3 separate regions of the Homo sapiens genome follow, and all the other regions are linked to region 2. The links are contacts of gene promoters, found by promoter capture Hi-C in blood cells and fetal thymus (Javierre and others, 2016). All regions are on one chromosome and are shown on one strand. The core of a region is centred on a gene start or on the middle of the fragment in contact, and the rest is flanking DNA. Distances in the headings are between cores, read along the strand shown.

Region 1 (2,700 bases), core at 110-2,609, 230 kb before region 2:
GCACTTCTGTAATCCTAGCTACTTGGGAGGCTGAGTCAGGAGAATGGCTTGAACCTGGGAAGCAGAGGTTGCAGTGAGCCAAGATTGCACCACTGCACTCCAGCCTGGCAACACAGCAAGACTCCATCTCAAAAAAAAAAAAAAAAAAGAGAGAGAGAGAGAGAAAGAAAGGAAAGAAAGAAAGAGGTGTAACCATCTTTTCCTTTTTTTTTTTTTAATTTTAAAACTTTTTTTTAAATAGAGACAAGGTCTCGCTATGTTGCCTAGGCTATCTTTGAACTCTTGGCCTCAAGGAATCCTCCCTCCTCAGCCTCACAAAATGCTGGGATTACAGGAATGAGCTACTGTGCCTGGCCTTTATCATTATTATATTATTATGATAGTTTTTTTAAATCTTTTCCCTCTTAAACTTGAATTCTCCCAGCTCATAATAAGAGAAGGTAAATGAGAACACCTCCCAAAAATATGCTACCCTTCTGAGATATAAAAATAACTAAGATTTACCAGCCTGAGGAAGGAAGAGGGGAAGAAAGCTATAACTGACCTGTGGAGGTCAAGGGCGCTGGTGATGGGACCAGCCTCCTCAGTCTACAGTGAAATCACACAGGCACTTAAGTGACTCATAAGGAAGCATCTCTGAACTGTAGTCTGGTAGACTCTGAAATGAGGCAACAAGTGGTATTATTGGAATCCTTCTCTTGCTCGTTAAAACTCTGATGAATTCTCAGCTGTCTTTAAGGGTTTGGATTTCATTCATAGTGCACGAGAGAGTGAACTGGAAGAACTCTAGAGGACTCTTCAAGTCCTTCACTTCCATGAAATAGAAAAGGCCTTTTGCTGTGTGTTTGTGCAGGACTCCCACGTGCCTGGCACACTCCTGGGCCCTCGGGGGAAATAGGAAAGAAGGATATGACAAAGTACCTGCCCTCAAAGAGCTTACAATCTATAGAAAGCAATTTCTATGGCCCCTCAGTACACAAGCCCCAGGGAAGTTTCTGGGAGCTGCTGAACAGTTTTCTCCAATTCTGCTGCATATAGGTGAGTTGTGATCATGGGTGAGGCTCTCCCCTTAATTAAGAAATGCCAGCCAAGGCCAGGAACAGTGGCTCACGCCTGTAATCCCAGCACTCTGGGAGTCCAAGGCAGAAGGATCGCTTGAGGCTGGCCTGGGCAACATAATCAGTCCTCATCTCTATTAAAAGAAAAGTCCCGAGGATATATGTAAATTTTAAGAACTTTTTTTATCTTAAAAAGGGAAAATGAGAAAAAGAAAAAAAAAAGAGAGAAATGCCTTCCCTCTTCATGATTCTTCTTTACTCTTATAATCTTCCAACTCACTGGGCACCCCCTAACTTTGGGTTCTTGAAGACTTTCCGGGAGGCACAGCTTGGCTAGTCTTAAGAGAATCAACTTGCAGATTCTCATCTTCCACGTGCACTCTTTCTTAAGGCGGTTGGACTGAGAAGGTGCCCCAGAGTTCCTTCATGATAGCCTGTCTCCCACTTTAGACAAGAGAGGCCCCCTTTCTGCTCTCCCATGTCTGATTCCAATTCATCATTCCATGATGGGGAAACTCCAGGGCAGCAAACAAAAGGGAAGCCCCCTTTGATGATAACAGCGCCATCAACTCAGAGTGTTCTGGAGATTTCCCTGGCATTATATATTTGCTTGTTTATTTGTTAAAGGAACACCCATTATTAAAATTTGGGTATTTGGGAATAGTCTAAATTCAGTTATATGGTAGAGGGAAGTGAAAAACAGCTTTTCATCCACAAAGTCACCTCTTATTCTTCCTAATTGCGTGTGTGTGTGTGTGTCTGTGTGTGTTTGTGTGATACAGACAGAGACAGAGAGAGAGAAAGGAAGGGAGGAAGAAAGAAAACTTATCACTCACTAGGGTTAGTATTATGATAGCAAATTAAGGGAAACTTTTGTAAGAATTATTGAATGCTAAAAAAGACTCTTTCCTCACTTTTTTAAATATAAAAAATTCTTTGCAGCTCTTCTTAAAACTCATCCTTAGGAGGTGTCATTAGCTGCAAAGAAAAGCACATTCAAATAAAGCCTGATATTTACTAATGCTGGTCATTTTTACCATAACTCAATTTTTTTCACAACTTCTAAAATTTTCAAGATACATTAGCTAAAGCCCCAGATTAAAGATTCATGTGATTTCTTGAAAAAATGCTCATCATCACTGGTTATCAGAGAAATGCAAATCAAAACCACAATGAGATACCATCTCACACCAGTTAGAATGGCGATCATTAAAAAGTCAGGAAACAACAGATGCTGGAGAGGATGTGGAGAAAAAGGAACACTTTTACATTGTTGGTGGGAGTGTAAATTAATTCAACCATTGTGGAAGACAGTGTGGTGATTTCTCAAGGATCTAGAACTAGAAACACCATTTGACCCAGCGATCCCATTAGTGGGTATATACCCAAAGGATTATAAATCATGCTGCTATAAAGACACATGCACACGTATGTTTATTGCAGCACTATTCACAATAGCAAAGACTTGGAACCAACCCAAATGTCCATCAATGATAGATTGGATAAAGAAAATGTGGCACATATACACCACGGAATACTATGCAGCCATAAAAAAGGATGAGTTCATGTCCTTTGCAGGAACATGGATGAAGCTGGAAACCATCATTCTGAGCAAACTATCACAAGGACAGGAAACCAAACA
Region 2 (2,700 bases), core at 93-2,592:
AACAGTTGGAAACATGTCAGCTGCTTTATGGAGGAAGCACAGCCCAGGCCTGGTTTCTCTGGGCTCCGTGATAACTTGGGGCAAGGCAGCCAGTGCGAAGCGTGGTGGCAGGAGCTGGAGAGATGGAGAGCGGCTCGGAGAAGGGCCCCTGCTTTTCAGAGTTGAAACAGGAGCCCTCTGAGAGAAAGAGATACTGCGTGTGGCTTCTCTGAAGCCTTGGAGGGCGACGTGGATGACACAGCATCAGCCATTCCATCGCGGGGTGGGGACACAGTGGCGGCAGGAACCGTCCTCAGCCCCTGGCGGCCACGGCAGTTCCCCGCTGAAGCATCCTTTGTGGGGTGTGGGTAAGGGAGGGGGACCAAAGTCGGGTCGGAGTTGAGTTTGTTAGACGGCGAGCACACTCAGGGCGGCAGCCCGAGTAAGAAGGATGGCCCCGGGAGAGAAACGGCTCGAAGCTAGGGGCGGGGTGAAGCGCCTGCTCCTTAATCTCCTGCCCCATCATCCACTCGCCCCACCTGGATGCAGAGCGAGGACCGCGTGGAAAGGAAACGGCGCGGGCGGGGCTCCCCCTCGCAGATGCCTCGGAGACCCAGAGGGGCGGCGTCAGGCCAGGGCCCCGAGCCCTACGCCCCCCATCCCCCCAACTCCAGCGCCTCTGAGGTGCCCCTCTCGCAATTCCGAGGCATCACCGTGTCTCCCCCGCCTCCGTTAAAATAGTGAAACTGCGGAGTGAAGTGATGGAAAGCCGGGGGCGGGGAGTCGCCCGCGGCGAGGGGCTGCAGGGGAGGGGGCGCGGTGGCCGAATAAGGTGGCCCGCGAGCAACGGGACGATTGGGATCGCAGCCAGTCGCGGCCTCCCGGACCCTTCCCCTCGGGCAGCCCGGCCCTCCCATGGCCCGGGGCGCCTTGGGAGGGCGTAGGGCAAACCTGGGGCTGCGGTGGGGGGTGGGGAGGGGACTCCACCTCCATCCATCCCGGGATGGCAACTGCGGTCACCCTGCTAAAGTCGGGGCGGGGGCGGCGGTCCTCCCCCTCACCCCCCCCAGTCCGAGCGCCGCCGCCGCCGCCGCCGCCGCCGCCGCGGCCGCTCAGTAACACGTCCCCAGGAGACTCGCAGGAGCAACACGTGATGTGTCTACTTATCAGGGTGAGAGGGGGAGAGCGAGACTCCGAGCGTGCGGGCGAGGAAGCTGGGCGGGGGGCCGAGACGGGGGCCGGGACGACGGCTGGGGCGCCGGGGTCGCCAGCTCCTCGCCCACCTCCCTCCCTGTGGGAGAAGAGGAGGAGGGGAAGTGACTGCGGAGTTGATGAACTTTGCACATCCAGAAACGCCATTTTGATTCCTTTTCCGGAACAAGTTTGCATCTCTCCTCGGTCTCTCCCTGAAGCCCACCGGTCCCCAACGCATCATGCCAGGGAGCCAAGCGTCCTGCCCGGCCGTAAGTACGTGCCCCGGATTCCGACTCGCGGTACGCCGGCGGCAGCGAGAAGTCTGGGGCACAGCCGGAGCGACCTTTTAAAGAACTTTGGGGATGGGGAGGGTGAAGTCTGCAGAGCGCGTTGTACTTTTGAAACTCGGTGTGTCCCGGAGCCGGGGACCCGCACGCCCCACTCCGCGCAGCGTGCGCTCGGGCCGGCGGGGCGGCCAGGGATGAGCGGGGCAGCCCTCTCCCCTCGGGCTGCGCGCCGGGCCATTCCTCCTCCTCCTCCTCCTCCTCCCCTTCCTCCGCTCTTTTCCCTTTCCCGAGCCGCCGGCTCTGCCAACCAGCTCCCAGCGCGAGCCGCCGCAGCGCCCCGCCAGCAGGACCTGATGCGCATCCATATTAGCCGTCCGAGCGCAGGAATCCGGCCCGACCCGCGCCGCCGAGTTTATTTTTAACCAGCACCGCCGGGACTCGGATGGTGCGCGCACCGCCGGCCAGAAACATCTTCCCAGCGCTGCTCTCCATCTTCCGCCCTCTCTCCCTCGACATCCTCCCCCCCATGTGGGAGGGGAAACTTTTCTCCTACATACTTTCGAGTCCTTCTCGGGCCGGGAAGCGCGGAGATGACGGCGCCCGCCCTCCCGCCGCCGCCCTAAGGTATCCGGGGGTGCCTGCCCGGGGTGCTCGCGCGGGGGTGCCTGCTCGGGGCTGCTCGGTGGGAGCATCCGCCGCGCCCTGCTCTGCGGACTTTGAACCTCCCGGGCGGACGGCGCCGGCCGGGAGGGGGCCGCGGGCAGCCCCGCGCCCTCGCGGGTTCCCGGCTGGCGGTCGTGGTCACGCCGACCACCGCCCCGGGGGGCCTGGGGAGGAGGGGACCGGGCCCTAGCCGTGCGGGCACGTATTGTTCCCTCGCCCTTCCGTTGGCGGGGTGAGTGTTTTCGTGGGAGCCCTCGGTGTGGAGCTAGCCTGCCTCGCGGGCGGGGGGGGTGGGGGGCTCGGCGCCGTCACGAGCACAGGAAGGAGGCCGGGAGCATCCGAGGCGGGGCCGGCCGCCGGGGCCCGCTCCGCCGCCCAGCTGTGGAGCGCGCTCGGAAACTTTTGTCCGCCGCCCGCTGGACCAGTTTTTCACGAGTTCTGGGGCTTCCCTTCCTCCTCCCATCCCGGCCCCCGGCGTCTAGCTGGGTGGGGGGAGGGGGCCTGTTGCTGCCCCCCCCGCCCCCAACTTCCCGCACAAGCCTTGGGCCGGGCCCCCCGCGCCCCCTCCCCGCTCGCG
Region 3 (2,700 bases), core at 139-2,638, 250 kb before region 2:
AAAAAAAGAAGAAGAAAAAAATAAAATAAATCCCTGTCTTCATGGACTATCCATTCCAGTGAGAAGAGGTGGACATAGACAGTATTTTTAATTTCTATCCCTTAGATAAAGAACTGCCCAAGGTGAAAGCTAATGAGGACAGAGCTGGAATTAGAGCCCAGGGCTAACTGACTAACATAGAGGTGTTTCCAAAAGATGATTTTGCCTCTGTACAGAAGAGCATGTTGTTTTCTTGGATCTTTCTCCTTCAATTCAAAATCTTGATCTGTCAGGAGAGCTGGGCCAACCCATCAGGTTGCAGGCAGGTGTCCATGGTGATGAAGGGATGGAAAAACTCACTCCTGACCTCCCTCTCAGGTTTTGGCCTCTCAGGCACCAAATTCCTAAGCACAGAACTGGGAAGTAAGATCCTCGGCGGCCCTTCCTACGGGACAGTCCTGCAGGTCCATCAGAGTATTTGATTGTTTAAACGAACATCTGTCTGGGGCAGAAACTGCAAATAGGATAGGAGAAGTTTGTTTGAATTTCCCTTTGGGACCTCAAAGCAGCAGGTGGAGAGAAGGAACTTTTAAAATTTCCATGTCAGCAGTGAGGAAAAGTGGAAGGAAGGAAGAGAAAAACAAAAGGAGGTCTCACAAAAGCATGTCAGAGTCAAAATCAGAAATAGATGTGAGAGTCTCTGGAATCATGTCCTTAGTTCTGGCTTCAAACAGAGACCCTTCCTCTCTCTGCAGACCACTCTCCAGGAAAGTCAGCATAATAGGGTAGGTACATATAAACATTTTACTCCATAAGAATTCTTCTGTCAAAAAGACTTTCATCTTTGCATTTTGATTTTAGGGTTAAGAAGTCTGATGCTTTATTAAACTGGAAAACTCACCTGCCCAAAACCATTGCTTTCTTCAATGGTTCTGCACTACTGAAATCACTCAGTACTTTCTGACAAACAACTTAAAATGAACCCATCCTATACTACTGTCTGACCTTTAAAGAATGTGTAGAAACCTTTTAAAGTAGTATCTGAGCTGGGCGCGGTGGCTCATGCCTGTAATCCCAACACTTTGGAAGGCTGAGGGGGGCTGATCACCTGAGGTCAGGAGTTCGAGACCAGCCTGGCCAACAAGGCGAAACCTGTCTCTACTAAAAATACAAAAAATTAACCAGGCTTGGTAGCACAGACCTGTAATCCCAGCTACTGGGGAGGCTGAGGCACAGGAGAATCACTTGAACCCAGCAAGCGGAGGTTGCAGTGAGCCGCGATCATGCCACTGCACTCCAGCCTGATCAAGAGTGAGACTCTGTCTCAAAAAAAAAAAATAGTATCTGTACTGTAAGAAAATTACCAATGAATGTTTATTACTCCCAGGCTAATATTCAATAGCAACTTTTCCCTAAATCTATTTTCTGACGTCCTGAAGGACTTCTACTAGAGCCAGGAAGTATCATTAGATTTCCATCATTGACACCCTAACAAATCTTAGAGACTAAGGAGTCACATTTGCAGCCTGCTGGCCATCTCAAAAGCCTGTGCCTCTACTGAGGGAGTGGGAGAAAAAAGACCTCAGGACCAGAATTTAGTGAGATATTCTATAAACTCCAAATCCAACCATTTTCCATCCATTCATTCAACATATATTTATTGAGCTCCTCATGAGTGCCAGCCACCATCTAGGCATTGGAGATAGAGTGGTGAACAAGCCAACTAAGTCTCTGCTTCCATGGAACTTGTACGTTCTAGGGAAGGAGAGAAATCAGTAAACAAATGCATGTGTAAGACAATAGTCATCGAAGAGAATTTTAGGCAGGGATAAATACTACTAAGAAAACTAAGGCAGGCCAGTCATGGTGGTTCACACATGTAATCCCAGCACTTTGGCAGATCACTTGGCCCAGAAGTTCAAGACCAGCCTGGGCAACATAGTGAAACTCCGTCTCTACAAAAAAAATACAAAAATTAGCAAGTCTGGCTGGGTGCAGTGGCTCATGCCTGTAATCCTAGCACTTTGGGAGGCTGAGGTGGGTGGATCACCTGAGGTCAGGAGTTCAAGACCAGCCTGGCCAACATGGCAAAACCCCATCTCTACTAAAAATACAAAAATTAGCCGGGCATAGTGGCATGCGCCTGTAATCCCAGCTACTTGGGAGACTGAGGCAGGAGAATCGCTTGAACCCAGGAGGTGGAGGTTGCGGTGAGTGGAGATTGCACCACTACACTCCAGCCTGGGCAACAGAGTGAGACTCAGTCTCAAACAAAAACAAAAGCAAAAACAAAAACAAAAATTAGCCGGGCGTAGTGGCACGTGCCTATAGTCCCAGATACTCGGGAGGCTCAGATGGGAGAATCACTTGAACCCAGGGAGCAACAGAGTGAGACCCTTTCTCAAAAACGCAAACAACAACAACAAAAATTAGCCAGGTTTGGTGGCTTACACCTGTGGTCCCAGCTACCTGGGAGGCTGAGATGGGAGGATCAAGGATCAAGGAGGTTGAGGCTGCAGTGAGCCATGATTGCACTATTGAACTCCAGCCTGGGCAACAGAGCAAGACCTTGTCAAAAAGAAAAGGAAGAACGAAGGAAGAAACTAAGGCAGAATGGGAGATAGTGATGATGGGTGGGTGGGGTTGCATTCCACAGAGCTGTCAGATAATGGGAGGAAGGAGCTAGACATGGAGGGTCTGGGAAAAGCATCCCAGGATGAG

What was found. The method cuts DNA at HindIII sites, captures the fragments that hold promoters and counts their contacts. A CHiCAGO score of 5 or more calls a contact.
Region 1: a contact is called between a fragment that was not itself captured here and the fragment with the promoter of RREB1 in region 2, in 1 of 17 cell types (M0 macrophages). The highest score is 5.1, in M0 macrophages.
Region 3: a contact is called between a fragment that was not itself captured here and the fragment with the promoter of RREB1 in region 2, in 1 of 17 cell types (M2 macrophages). The highest score is 5.5, in M2 macrophages.

Annotation. Positions count from the first base shown.
Region 1 is chr6:6,875,378-6,878,077 of GRCh38, forward strand. The region is part of intron 1 of LOC105374903 (a long non-coding RNA gene); the gene reads right to left. Among named protein-coding and RNA genes, the nearest start is that of LINC03055, 8.9 kb to the right of the region's middle. The HindIII fragment of the contact is 4,195 bases long and covers 1-2,700 here.
Region 2 is chr6:7,106,619-7,109,318 of GRCh38, forward strand. It overlaps RREB1 (ras responsive element binding protein 1), which reads left to right and starts at 1,343. Exons shown (of 13, transcript NM_001003699.4): 1 at 1,343-1,442. RefSeq lists an enhancer at 152-211 and silencers at 562-1,041, 1,102-1,321, 2,112-2,601, 2,622-2,700. The HindIII fragment of the contact is 7,744 bases long and covers 1-2,700 here.
Region 3 is chr6:6,853,828-6,856,527 of GRCh38, forward strand. No RefSeq gene overlaps it. Among named protein-coding and RNA genes, the nearest start is that of LINC03055, 30 kb to the right of the region's middle. The HindIII fragment of the contact is 4,005 bases long and covers 1-2,700 here.